2 separate regions of the Homo sapiens genome follow, and region 2 is linked to region 1. Evidence: promoter capture Hi-C in 16 types of primary human blood cells and fetal thymus (Javierre and others, 2016). All regions are on one chromosome and are shown on one strand. Each heading gives the region's core, a stretch centred on a gene start or on the middle of the fragment in contact. The rest is flanking DNA. Distances are from core to core; before and after follow the strand shown. Region 1 holds the start of SSTR1 (somatostatin receptor 1). Region 2 has its middle 200 kb from the start of LINC00639.

Evidence for each region. The method cuts DNA at HindIII sites, captures the fragments that hold promoters and counts their contacts. A CHiCAGO score of 5 or more calls a contact.
Region 2: a fragment that was not itself captured here is called in contact with the fragment with the promoter of SSTR1 in region 1 in 1 of 17 cell types (endothelial precursors); the score reaches 6.3 in endothelial precursors.

What each region holds. Positions count from the first base shown.
Region 1 is chr14:38,205,807-38,211,354 of GRCh38, forward strand. SSTR1 (somatostatin receptor 1) reads left to right here and starts at 2,098. Exons shown (of 3, transcript NM_001049.3): 1 at 2,098-2,298; 2 at 2,637-2,803; 3 at 3,240-5,548. The coding sequence starts at 3,584. The coding sequence ends at 4,759. It overlaps LOC124903303 (a long non-coding RNA gene), which reads right to left and starts at 3,481. Exons shown (of 2, transcript XR_007064117.1): 1 at 3,276-3,481; 2 at 1,409-2,470. RefSeq lists enhancers at 1,900-2,561, 3,545-4,248, 4,249-4,951. The HindIII fragment of the contact is 9,392 bases long and covers 1,754-5,548 here.
Region 2 is chr14:38,717,823-38,723,370 of GRCh38, forward strand. No RefSeq gene overlaps it. Among named protein-coding and RNA genes, the nearest start is that of LINC00639, 200 kb to the right of the region's middle. The HindIII fragment of the contact is 1,429 bases long and covers 2,699-4,127 here.

The DNA.
Region 1 (5,548 bases), core at 848-3,347:
TAATAATAATAATAATAATAATAATAATAATTTAAAAATAAATACATAACTGAAAAGATTTAATAATGCTGCATAGCTTATATCCATCTCAATCCCTCTCTTTGTCTTTCTCTCATGCTTTTTAAAATTGAAGTAAAACTCCCATAATATAAAATTTATAATTTTAGTCATTTTTGAAGTGTACAATTCAGGGATTTTTAGCATATTCACAATGTTATGCAATCATCACCACTATCTAATTCCAGAACATTTTCACCACTCAAAAAAGAAAGCTCATACCCATTAAGCAGTCCTTCCTCTTTCCCCTCTGCCCCCAGCCCCTGGCAACCACTAACGTACCTTGTCTGTATGTATTGCCTGCCCTGGGCATGTCATATAAATGGAATCATGCCACACGTGGCCTTTTGTGTCTGGCTTCTTTCCCTTTGCATAGTGTTTTCAAGCTTCGTCTACGCTGAAGCAGGTATTAGTACTTCATTTCTTTTTATGGTTGAATACTATTCCATTGTATGGATATACCACAATTTATTAATTCAGCAATTGATGGATATTTGGATTGTTTCTAATTTTTGGCTATTATGAATAGTGCTGCTATGAATGTTCATGCACAAGTTTTTGATTAAACACCTGTTTTCAATTTTGAGGAGTAAATAGAAGTGGAATTGCTGGCTCATATGGTCATTCTTTTAAACTTTTAAACTTTTTAAGCAATTGCCAAAATTTTTTTCTGAAGTTGCTGCATCATTTTTTATTCCCACCAGCAATGTATGAGTGTTCTAATTTCTCCACATTCTCACTAACGTTTATTTTTTGTTTTTAAAAATGTTCTTATAGCCATCCTAGTGGGTGAAAAGTGGCATCTCAAAAAAATAAAAATAAAAAGCATTCTCACGTCAGGTCTTAAGTTTTCTTCTTTTGTATATGAGGCCACAAAATTGAGAGAAATTTTCCCTAAGATGAGCTGAAAGTGAATTTAATGAAATTCTGAACAACAGAGCTGTTTTTCACTGACTCCCATCACACACTTCCCAAAGAGCAACCATGATCAAAGCCAAGGCATCTAAATAATGACTGTTGAAATCCAAGCTCCCAGAGGTACAGATAGTCAGGTGTCTTTAGTCAGTGATTGGCAGAGGCATCTAAGGCATTATATGAGGCTTGGCTAGTAAAATGCTCTTCTGGGATTCTGGGACAATACCCACTCTCTTTTCTTTTAACTTAATGAACATTTATTTTCTCTCCATATGTGCTGTATTTGTAAAGGAAAAATAAATATAACTAAACACCAATTGTACATTCCACTTTAAAGAAGGCAATTTGTTCAGGTAAAATAATGGGTTAAAACAGTTTCAGCCGTATGAAATTTCAAATTCCATCCTAGCACATTCCTCATTAATAATTGCACACATTCCTATGAAAGTCTGTCATTTATTTTAGTCTTTGATTGCTATCATCAACACACTACAGAAGTTATTCTTTCCTGTTCAAGACAATTAGTTTTGGGAACTAAAACACATGCAGTATATGTAAGTGATTACCTGGATAAAGCAACAGGGCATTAGGAAATATACTTTTTTGTTTTTAATTTCTGCATCCATTTCTTCATTCTGGACCGGTACAGATAGCCTCCATGAGGAGTTTAGCCTCTCCTTGGAGTAAACTCTACTGAGAGGAGGAAAACTGAGACTTACAGTACAGCGGGCACAGCCTGGTTGAGGAGAAGGAGAAACTAAGGAAAAACTGGAGACAGCAAAGCTTGAAGGAGGCAGAGCACTAAGCTGCTGCGGGTCACTCTTCCTGTGAACAGGCTAGTTTCAAATAAAGGCTTGCAGGGATCTTACCGAGCAAAGCAACGTTTATGAAAAGGAACAGGGAAGTTGCATGGAGTGTGATTCTTCCTTCCACAGGAACAGTTGGAAAGCCAAAGAGACCCTAGAGTAAGAATGGTGGTAAGTCCCAGGGTTCGTTTAAAATCCTGATAACGGAACATACATTCTTTCTTACGGGAAAACCGTTTTGATTCTTAAATGAAGTCAGTGAGCTTCAGGCTTGCCTACATTGATATCTCCTAATGGTTTGGGCACGTGACCCAGAGCCAGCTCACAAATCAAGCCTCAGAAAGAGCTGACATCCTAGCTCTTCCCGGAAAAACTCGAATGTCGCCCTGCCGTTCCTGGGGTTGGTGACAGGTCTGGTCATCGCACGGCGGCAGCTCCTCACCTGGATTTAGAAGAGCTGGCGTCCCCGCCCGCCCAAGCCTTTAAACTCTCGTCTGCCAGAACCCGCCAACTCTCCAGGGTACAAAGTACAGCAGGGACGCGGGTGGAGCCCTTCCAAGCGGCGCAGCCTTATCTTTCCCGAGTGAACACCTAGGTGGATTCCCAACACCGCGCCTGGCACGTTTCTGGAGGGAGTCTCAAGCTCCTCCAGAGCTCCCAGCTGCGCGTCCTCGTTTCTGCAGTCGATATTCCTGTGGGAGACACGGGGGGCTCTGAGCGCTACGAGCTTTATTAAGAGATTTGCGAATGGTTCACTCAGGTCCCTGAACACTCCCAATAGCCTAAGCTGCCTGCTGTGTTATAGCGCAGAAGCCCCTAACGCACGGTGGTTGTCCTTTCTTCTCATAACGCTCGCAGCTTAGGGCCAGTTTCCGCGATTCTAAGAGTAATTGCGTGGGCACCTGTGCTGGGGCCAGGCGCAAAGAAGGGAGTTGGTCTGCGCGAAGATCGTCAACCTGCTAACAGACCGCACATGCACTTTGCACCGACCATCTACGTCTCAGTCTGGAGGTTGCGCACTTTGGGTAAGGAGGGCCCGGAACTTCCCTGGCGGGTCTGAGCTGCAAGGCAAGCGAGGGTGGGAAGAGGGAATTTAGGGTTCTGGACTGCGGGACGGGAGAGAAGCTGGGGTCTCCAGAGAAAAGGGCAGCAATGGAGGGAAACTGAGATGAACTCCAGACATCCATGTTCATGGATCCGTTTGAGTCTTTGCTTTGGGTAGGAGAGGAGTGGAATGAGACAGAATCTATACCTTTGGTTCCCACCCGCCCTCCAGTAAGGCCGAGGAACTCTCTTGGTTCCTCTGAGAGCAAGAGGCAGATGGTGCTGCGAGGGAACCCCGGAAGGAGCCACTAAAGTTGAGCAGAGTGCAGGACTGGGAAGGAAAAAAATGGGGGGCGGGGGGGACAAGCCACCTATGTGCTCTCCTCCCTTTCTCCACCCCACCCCCTTTTTTCGTAGCTGCTGACGCGCTGGTGGTGCCTATTAATCATTTACCAGTCCAGAGCCGCGCCAGTTAATGGCTGTGCCGTGCGGTGCTCCCACATCCTGGCCTCTCCTCTCCACGGTCGCCTGTGCCCGGGCACCCCGGAGCTGCAAACTGCAGAGCCCAGGCAACCGCTGGGCTGTGCGCCCCGCCGGCGCCGGTAGGAGCCGCGCTCCCCGCAGCGGTTGCGCTCTACCCGGAGGCGCTGGGCGGCTGTGGGCTGCAGGCAAGCGGTCGGGTGGGGAGGGAGGGCGCAGGCGGCGGGTGCGCGAGGAGAAAGCCCCAGCCCTGGCAGCCCCACTGGCCCCCCTCAGCTGGGATGTTCCCCAATGGCACCGCCTCCTCTCCTTCCTCCTCTCCTAGCCCCAGCCCGGGCAGCTGCGGCGAAGGCGGCGGCAGCAGGGGCCCCGGGGCCGGCGCTGCGGACGGCATGGAGGAGCCAGGGCGAAATGCGTCCCAGAACGGGACCTTGAGCGAGGGCCAGGGCAGCGCCATCCTGATCTCTTTCATCTACTCCGTGGTGTGCCTGGTGGGGCTGTGTGGGAACTCTATGGTCATCTACGTGATCCTGCGCTATGCCAAGATGAAGACGGCCACCAACATCTACATCCTAAATCTGGCCATTGCTGATGAGCTGCTCATGCTCAGCGTGCCCTTCCTAGTCACCTCCACGTTGTTGCGCCACTGGCCCTTCGGTGCGCTGCTCTGCCGCCTCGTGCTCAGCGTGGACGCGGTCAACATGTTCACCAGCATCTACTGTCTGACTGTGCTCAGCGTGGACCGCTACGTGGCCGTGGTGCATCCCATCAAGGCGGCCCGCTACCGCCGGCCCACCGTGGCCAAGGTAGTAAACCTGGGCGTGTGGGTGCTATCGCTGCTCGTCATCCTGCCCATCGTGGTCTTCTCTCGCACCGCGGCCAACAGCGACGGCACGGTGGCTTGCAACATGCTCATGCCAGAGCCCGCTCAACGCTGGCTGGTGGGCTTCGTGTTGTACACATTTCTCATGGGCTTCCTGCTGCCCGTGGGGGCTATCTGCCTGTGCTACGTGCTCATCATTGCTAAGATGCGCATGGTGGCCCTCAAGGCCGGCTGGCAGCAGCGCAAGCGCTCGGAGCGCAAGATCACCTTAATGGTGATGATGGTGGTGATGGTGTTTGTCATCTGCTGGATGCCTTTCTACGTGGTGCAGCTGGTCAACGTGTTTGCTGAGCAGGACGACGCCACGGTGAGTCAGCTGTCGGTCATCCTCGGCTATGCCAACAGCTGCGCCAACCCCATCCTCTATGGCTTTCTCTCAGACAACTTCAAGCGCTCTTTCCAACGCATCCTATGCCTCAGCTGGATGGACAACGCCGCGGAGGAGCCGGTTGACTATTACGCCACCGCGCTCAAGAGCCGTGCCTACAGTGTGGAAGACTTCCAACCTGAGAACCTGGAGTCCGGCGGCGTCTTCCGTAATGGCACCTGCACGTCCCGGATCACGACGCTCTGAGCCCGGGCCACGCAGGGGCTCTGAGCCCGGGCCACGCAGGGGCCCTGAGCCAAAAGAGGGGGAGAATGAGAAGGGAAGGCCGGGTGCGAAAGGGACGGTATCCAGGGCGCCAGGGTGCTGTCGGGATAACGTGGGGCTAGGACACTGACAGCCTTTGATGGAGGAACCCAAGAAAGGCGCGCGACAATGGTAGAAGTGAGAGCTTTGCTTATAAACTGGGAAGGCTTTCAGGCTACCTTTTTCTGGGTCTCCCACTTTCTGTTCCTTCCTCCACTGCGCTTACTCCTCTGACCCTCCTTCTATTTTCCCTACCCTGCAACTTCTATCCTTTCTTCCGCACCGTCCCGCCAGTGCAGATCACGAACTCATTAACAACTCATTCTGATCCTCAGCCCCTCCAGTCGTTATTTCTGTTTGTTTAAGCTGAGCCACGGATACCGCCACGGGTTTCCCTCGGCGTTAGTCCCTAGCCGCGCGGGGCCGCTGTCCAGGTTCTGTCTGGTGCCCCTACTGGAGTCCCGGGAATGACCGCTCTCCCTTTGCGCAGCCCTACCTTAAGGAAAGTTGGACTTGAGAAAGATCTAAGCAGCTGGTCTTTTCTCCTACTCTTGGGTGAAGGTGCATCTTTCCCTGCCCTCCCCTGTCCCCCTCTCGCCGCCCGCCCGCCACCACCACTCTCACTCCACCCAGAGTAGAGCCAGGTGCTTAGTAAAATAGGTCCCGCGCTTCGAACTCCAGGCTTTCTGGAGTTCCCACCCAAGCCCTCCTTTGGAGCAAAGAAGGAGCTGA
Region 2 (5,548 bases), core at 2,163-4,662, 510 kb after region 1:
TCCCAAAAACATTGAGAATAACAGCTAACATACAGTCAGCCCTCTATATCTGAGTTCCATATCCATGGATTCAACCAACCATAGATGCAAAATATTCAGGAAAAAAACCACATTTGTACTGAACATGGACAGATTTTTCTTGTCATTAGCCCCTAAACAATACAGTAAAACTATTTACATAGCATTTGCATTGCATTAGGTATAACTAATCTAGAGATTATTTAAAGTATACACGAAGATGTGTGTAAGTTATATGCAAATACTATGCCATTTTTAATTTTTTTTTAAGACATGGGGTCTCAGTATGTTGCCCAGGCTGGCCTTGAACTCTTGGGTGATCCTCCCACTTCAGCCTCCTGAGTAGCTGGGATTATAGGCACGCACCACCAACCTGTCTTTATTATGCCATTTCAAATAAGAGGATTTTGGTATCCTGGAGGGGAAGGGGGTTGTGGCGGTTTTGGCACCAATCCACCATGGATACTGAGGGACAACTGTACTTGAAAATGGTAATCAAGTCATCACTTTCAAGCCTAGTTGAATCCAGTGCTTCATCTACTCCACACCTGCACCCACACAGCTGAATGTGTCTGAAGAAAAACACATAATTGTGCTGATTGATCTCACTTTAAATTCATGACCACCCATTTCCTAACAAAGCTGACCCCTCCATTTGAACACGTAAATCTAATTCCATCTCTTCTGCTCAAGGATACAACTCCCACAATTGCCCCTTCCTCCTACATGTTTTATTTTCCCATCTGTACTCAACATGCAGTATTTCTATCATTTTTTTAAGGCACTCACAATCCCACTTTCCTGTCCTGGTATGACCCCATTTCCACACTTTGAAACAAATAGACTTGCTCTGTACAGTTTCTCTCTTCCTGTTCTCACTTAAACCCACTCGGAGTATGCTTTTGCCTGATTGCTCCATCAAAACTGCTCCTGCCAAGCTCTCCAATGATCTCCAAAGTGGAAATCCAGATTCTTCATCTTACTTGACTTAGCAGCCTTTGACCTGGTTAAACATTATTTCCTTCTTGAAGCACTTTCTTCACTTGACTTCCGGGACACCACATGGTCTCAAATGCTTCCTCTCAGTCTTGGCTGGTTCCTTTACTCCCCAACCTTTCAATGTTGGAATACTCCCAGCCTCCCTTGCCCTGGAACTTCTCTTTCTTATTATCTGTCTATATCTCTAGCTTCATCTCTCAATCTATCATGATTCCCATTCAAGTTAGAACAGGCTAAGTCTTCCTGGGTTAAAAACAACCACACCCCAGTCCCAGTAGCTTAAGAAAGGTTTCTCACTCATGTTGCCTTTCAGTTGTGGTTTGCCTAGGTATTGTATCCCATGTTGTCCTTTCTCTGGGACACAGCTCGTAGAGCAGCTACCATAAAGAGTACTGCCAGCTGCTGTGACAGAGATAAGAATGTGACATTGTGCATTAATTACTAAAGCTTCCATCCAGAAGTAACATGTATTATTTCCACTTGATTTTAGTTGGACAGAGCAAGTCACAGGGCCATGATGAGTAGAAAAATACAATTCTAACATAAAACCATATTAGAAGGTGAAATGGAAATATTTGGTGAATGACACTAGTGATTACCAAAACTCCCAAATGTGTATCTCCTGCCTAGGCTTCTCACTAAACTCTTTTTTTCATTACCTAACTCTCTGCTCAGCATCTTCACTTAGATATCTAAAACCTCAAACTGGCCGGGTACTGTGGCTCATGCCTGTAATCCTAACACTTTGGCAGATTGAGGCAGGTGGATCACCTGAGGTCAGGAGTTCAAGACCAGCCTGGCCAATATGGTAAAACCTTGTCTCTAACTAAAAAATACAAAAGTTATCTGGGCATGGTGGCGTATGCCTATAGTCCCAGCTATTTTGGAGGCTGAGGCAGGAGAATCACTTGAACCCAGGAGGCGGAGGTTGCAGTGAGCCGAGATCGTGCCACTGCATTCCAGCCTGGGCAGCAGAGTGAGACTCCAACTCAAAAAAAAAAAACAAAAAACCTCAAACTAAGCATCTTCAAAACTGAGGTCTACTCTTCTCCTCACTCCAAACCAAACCTCCTCCTACAGTTTTTTAATCTCAGTTCATGGCAACTCCATGAACTCCATATATAAGCCTCATAAGGGTTTATTGTTGTATCTTCAATGCCAAACAAAATGTGTGGCAAAAAGTAGGTTGAACAAATGAATTGATGAATAAATATTGTGTTTCTGTCTCAGTTCATGCTCTGATTTCTTCACATCTTTAAAAAATGGTAAAGTAGATACCTTACTTAAAAAGATTCTGACTAATTGAATGTAATGATCAACACTGTAGCTCGAGCATACAGGGCCTGTTACTATACCAAATACTGTGTTGAGTTCCTTGCATTCTCTGCCTCTCCCACCCAACAATTAGCCTACAAGTGCTATACAAGTAGTTCTCTGACACTGTTAGCCTCCTGAGTCCGAGCCTTCACTACCTACATCCCCTCCCTCTTCATCCCATATGGCCATTCTCTCTCCATATGTGCATACAAACCTTTTGGGAATCCATTGCATATGTCACATTTTTTAAACAGGTTATCCTGTGATGCACATTAGACATTTCTAAGACCATTTACTACAAGGTTGATTTTTCTTTGAGAACTTATTATATTTACTTTTGGACTCAACACATTTTTTCTCATTAAGCTTCTCAAGTCATCTCTCCTTACTCATCAGACAAATGCCATTCCAGGTGAGGAATTTTGTGTCCTAAAAGCCTGAGTTTTTAAAGAGCTATTTGCAAATTATTGTTATTTTCTGGATCTGACTGACATACCAGGTGAGAGTTGTCAGCTGTTAGCTGACAGTTGCAAATCCAGGGGCCTTAAGTCAAGACTCCAGATAAGAAACACAGCAGCCCAAACTAAAGGTACTATTTCCAAATACATGTCTAGGTATTTGCTTCTCTTTTTTTAGAATAAGATCAGATTATATATAAATTATATTATTGCATAGTATCTCTTTCATAAGGTCTGTTATGGTGATAAAAATCAATAAATATATGTGAAGTGCTTAGAACAGTACAATGCAATTTAAGTATGTGTTGCTATTTTCTTTTCCTTAAGATGACTAATTATTTAATAGTCTAAGTGGGTACTATATTAGGGTTCTCTACAGGGACAAAATTAATGGAATAGACATATATATAAAGGGGAGTTTATTAAGTATTAATTCACATGATCACAAGGTCTCACAATAGGCCGTCTGTGGGCTGAGGAGCAAAAAGAGCCAGTCTGAGTTCCCAAACTGAAGAACTTGGAGTTCGATGTTTGAGGACAGGAAGCACCCAGCCTGGGAGAAAGATGTAGGCTGGGAGGCTAGGCCAGTCTCTCTTTTCAGATTTTTCTGCCTGCTTATATTCTAGCTGTGCTGGCAGCTAATTAGATTGTGCCCACCCAGATTAAGGGTGGGTCTGCCTTTCTCGGCCCACTGACTCAAATGTTAATCTCCTTTGGCAACACCCTCACAGACACACCCAGGATCAATAATTTAATCCATGATTGAATCCTTCAATTCAATCAAGTTGACACTCAGTATTAACCATCACAGGTATACTCTCTTAAATTAGAATCCAAAATATAATCTTCATGTGCTGTTGTTATTAATATTTCAAATCTTTGGTAGATTAAAATAATATGACTTAAGTAGTTTAAATTCACAGTGTAATTGTAACTATACATATGTTTGGAAACCTGGATATATCAATGCAGTATGTGAGACAGGAAAATAATTAGGTTACAAAGACAGTACAGATCTAATAATTCTGTCCTGTTGGAGCACATAACAGAAGAAAAACACACGAGAGGTAACACTGAGACCTAATAAAAACAACCAAAAGGAACTGCCCAGCAGAGAGGAAGAGACTCAGACGCAGCAGTTTTGGCCGCGTAACTGATTGACTAAGCAACCTGAAGCCTGTCATGAATCGGTGTTTTATTCAAATGTGAATAAAGATGACTGCCCCAAATTTTAGTTACCACGGTGTGAAAACATTCATTTTTCACTGTCAGTCAGAAAATATAAATTCTCTGTTAGCTATGTCTCCAGACACACTCTCAGCCATGGCTGGAATAAGCTTTGATTCCATCTAGGCTGGGAGTGTAAACTACTCATTTCCTCACACTGTACCACGGCTATCCCAATACAGGCCTCCAGGAGGCAGTGTCTCTTCATTTTAACTGAGTGCATGAATTCTGCCAGTTCTTCAATATACTTAACTTCTGTCTTCATTCTCCTAGGAAACCTTTCTAGTCCAAGAGAAAGTATTCTGTAATGGTAGCCCTCCCACTGGCCCACCCATCATGGAATAATGCATCATGACTTTGCTAGGTTGGGTGAGTTCGTTCAAAGGTCACACACAGGCCTTTGGTTTCGGGAAAGGTAGAGAGAAAGGGACCACAATTTTGAGAGTAAAAGGACAGGAATGATTTTATGTTTGCAGCACTTGAGGGAAGATGTGATTTTTAAAACAGAGCTTAAAAACCTAAACAAACAAAAAATTCTTGGCCCTCATATGTGTATAGGTTGTCCTAAGGAATGCCTTTATTGCTTTACATATGACAACCAAAGTTCCTGTTGAGACCTCAGGTTGACACTTTGTTACTTTTCCCACTGAAAGTTGCTTTTGATGTTCGTTCGCACTGATTTTTACCTTCAACCAAGCCCTTGGATGTGATGTTAGCCATTGCCACTATCAAATACCCTAGAAGAGTGGATATAACCCTTTTTTGATGAGTGTCTTTGAAGTTCCAATGAGATACATGTATATTGCTGAACCTACACATATGTATATATCTTTATGCTTTGCTAACAATTTCAAGGATCTCCTAGACTTTGTTCAGTAAAGTCTTCTAGGTGAAGAAGAGAGAGCCCCTTACAGCTCTCTCACTGCTATCCTAGGTCAATTAGATTAGTCTGGTAATTAAGTGGTTTTTTGTGAACCAGTAACTGTATTGAAAGTCAAATATCAACAATTCAGGAAAACTGTCTTTGACTTCTTTATTTGGAAATATTCTATGAAGAGAGAATTTTTAATCACCACATAGGACTGATGTTTTATTTGTAGTTTGATCACCAGGTAACTGCTTCATTCATGCATTTCATTTATTTTTACTATCATTACCTCGCTTTACATAATAATATTTAACAATTACTGTAATCAGAACACTATTCACACTTTAACCAAGTGTCTTTTATGACACTCCTGAGAAAGAGATATCTCTTCTGGATAACCAAGCCAGAGAAGAATAGTTCAATAGCTTTATTACTATGATAGTGAAAGTTGATATCAATGCTAAATTGATGACTCTCTATCCTAGGATCATCAAACCACACCTTTCTCCTTTATAAAAGTCAGCAATACTTCCACATTTGCTAATTTCATAAATGATTTAGTAATATCAACTAATACAAAGTATTTGCAAAGCATCTGAAAAAAGTCATTTTCAGACAAAATCCTCATCAAGCTTAAAATTTCATGTCCTAAATTTAGAAT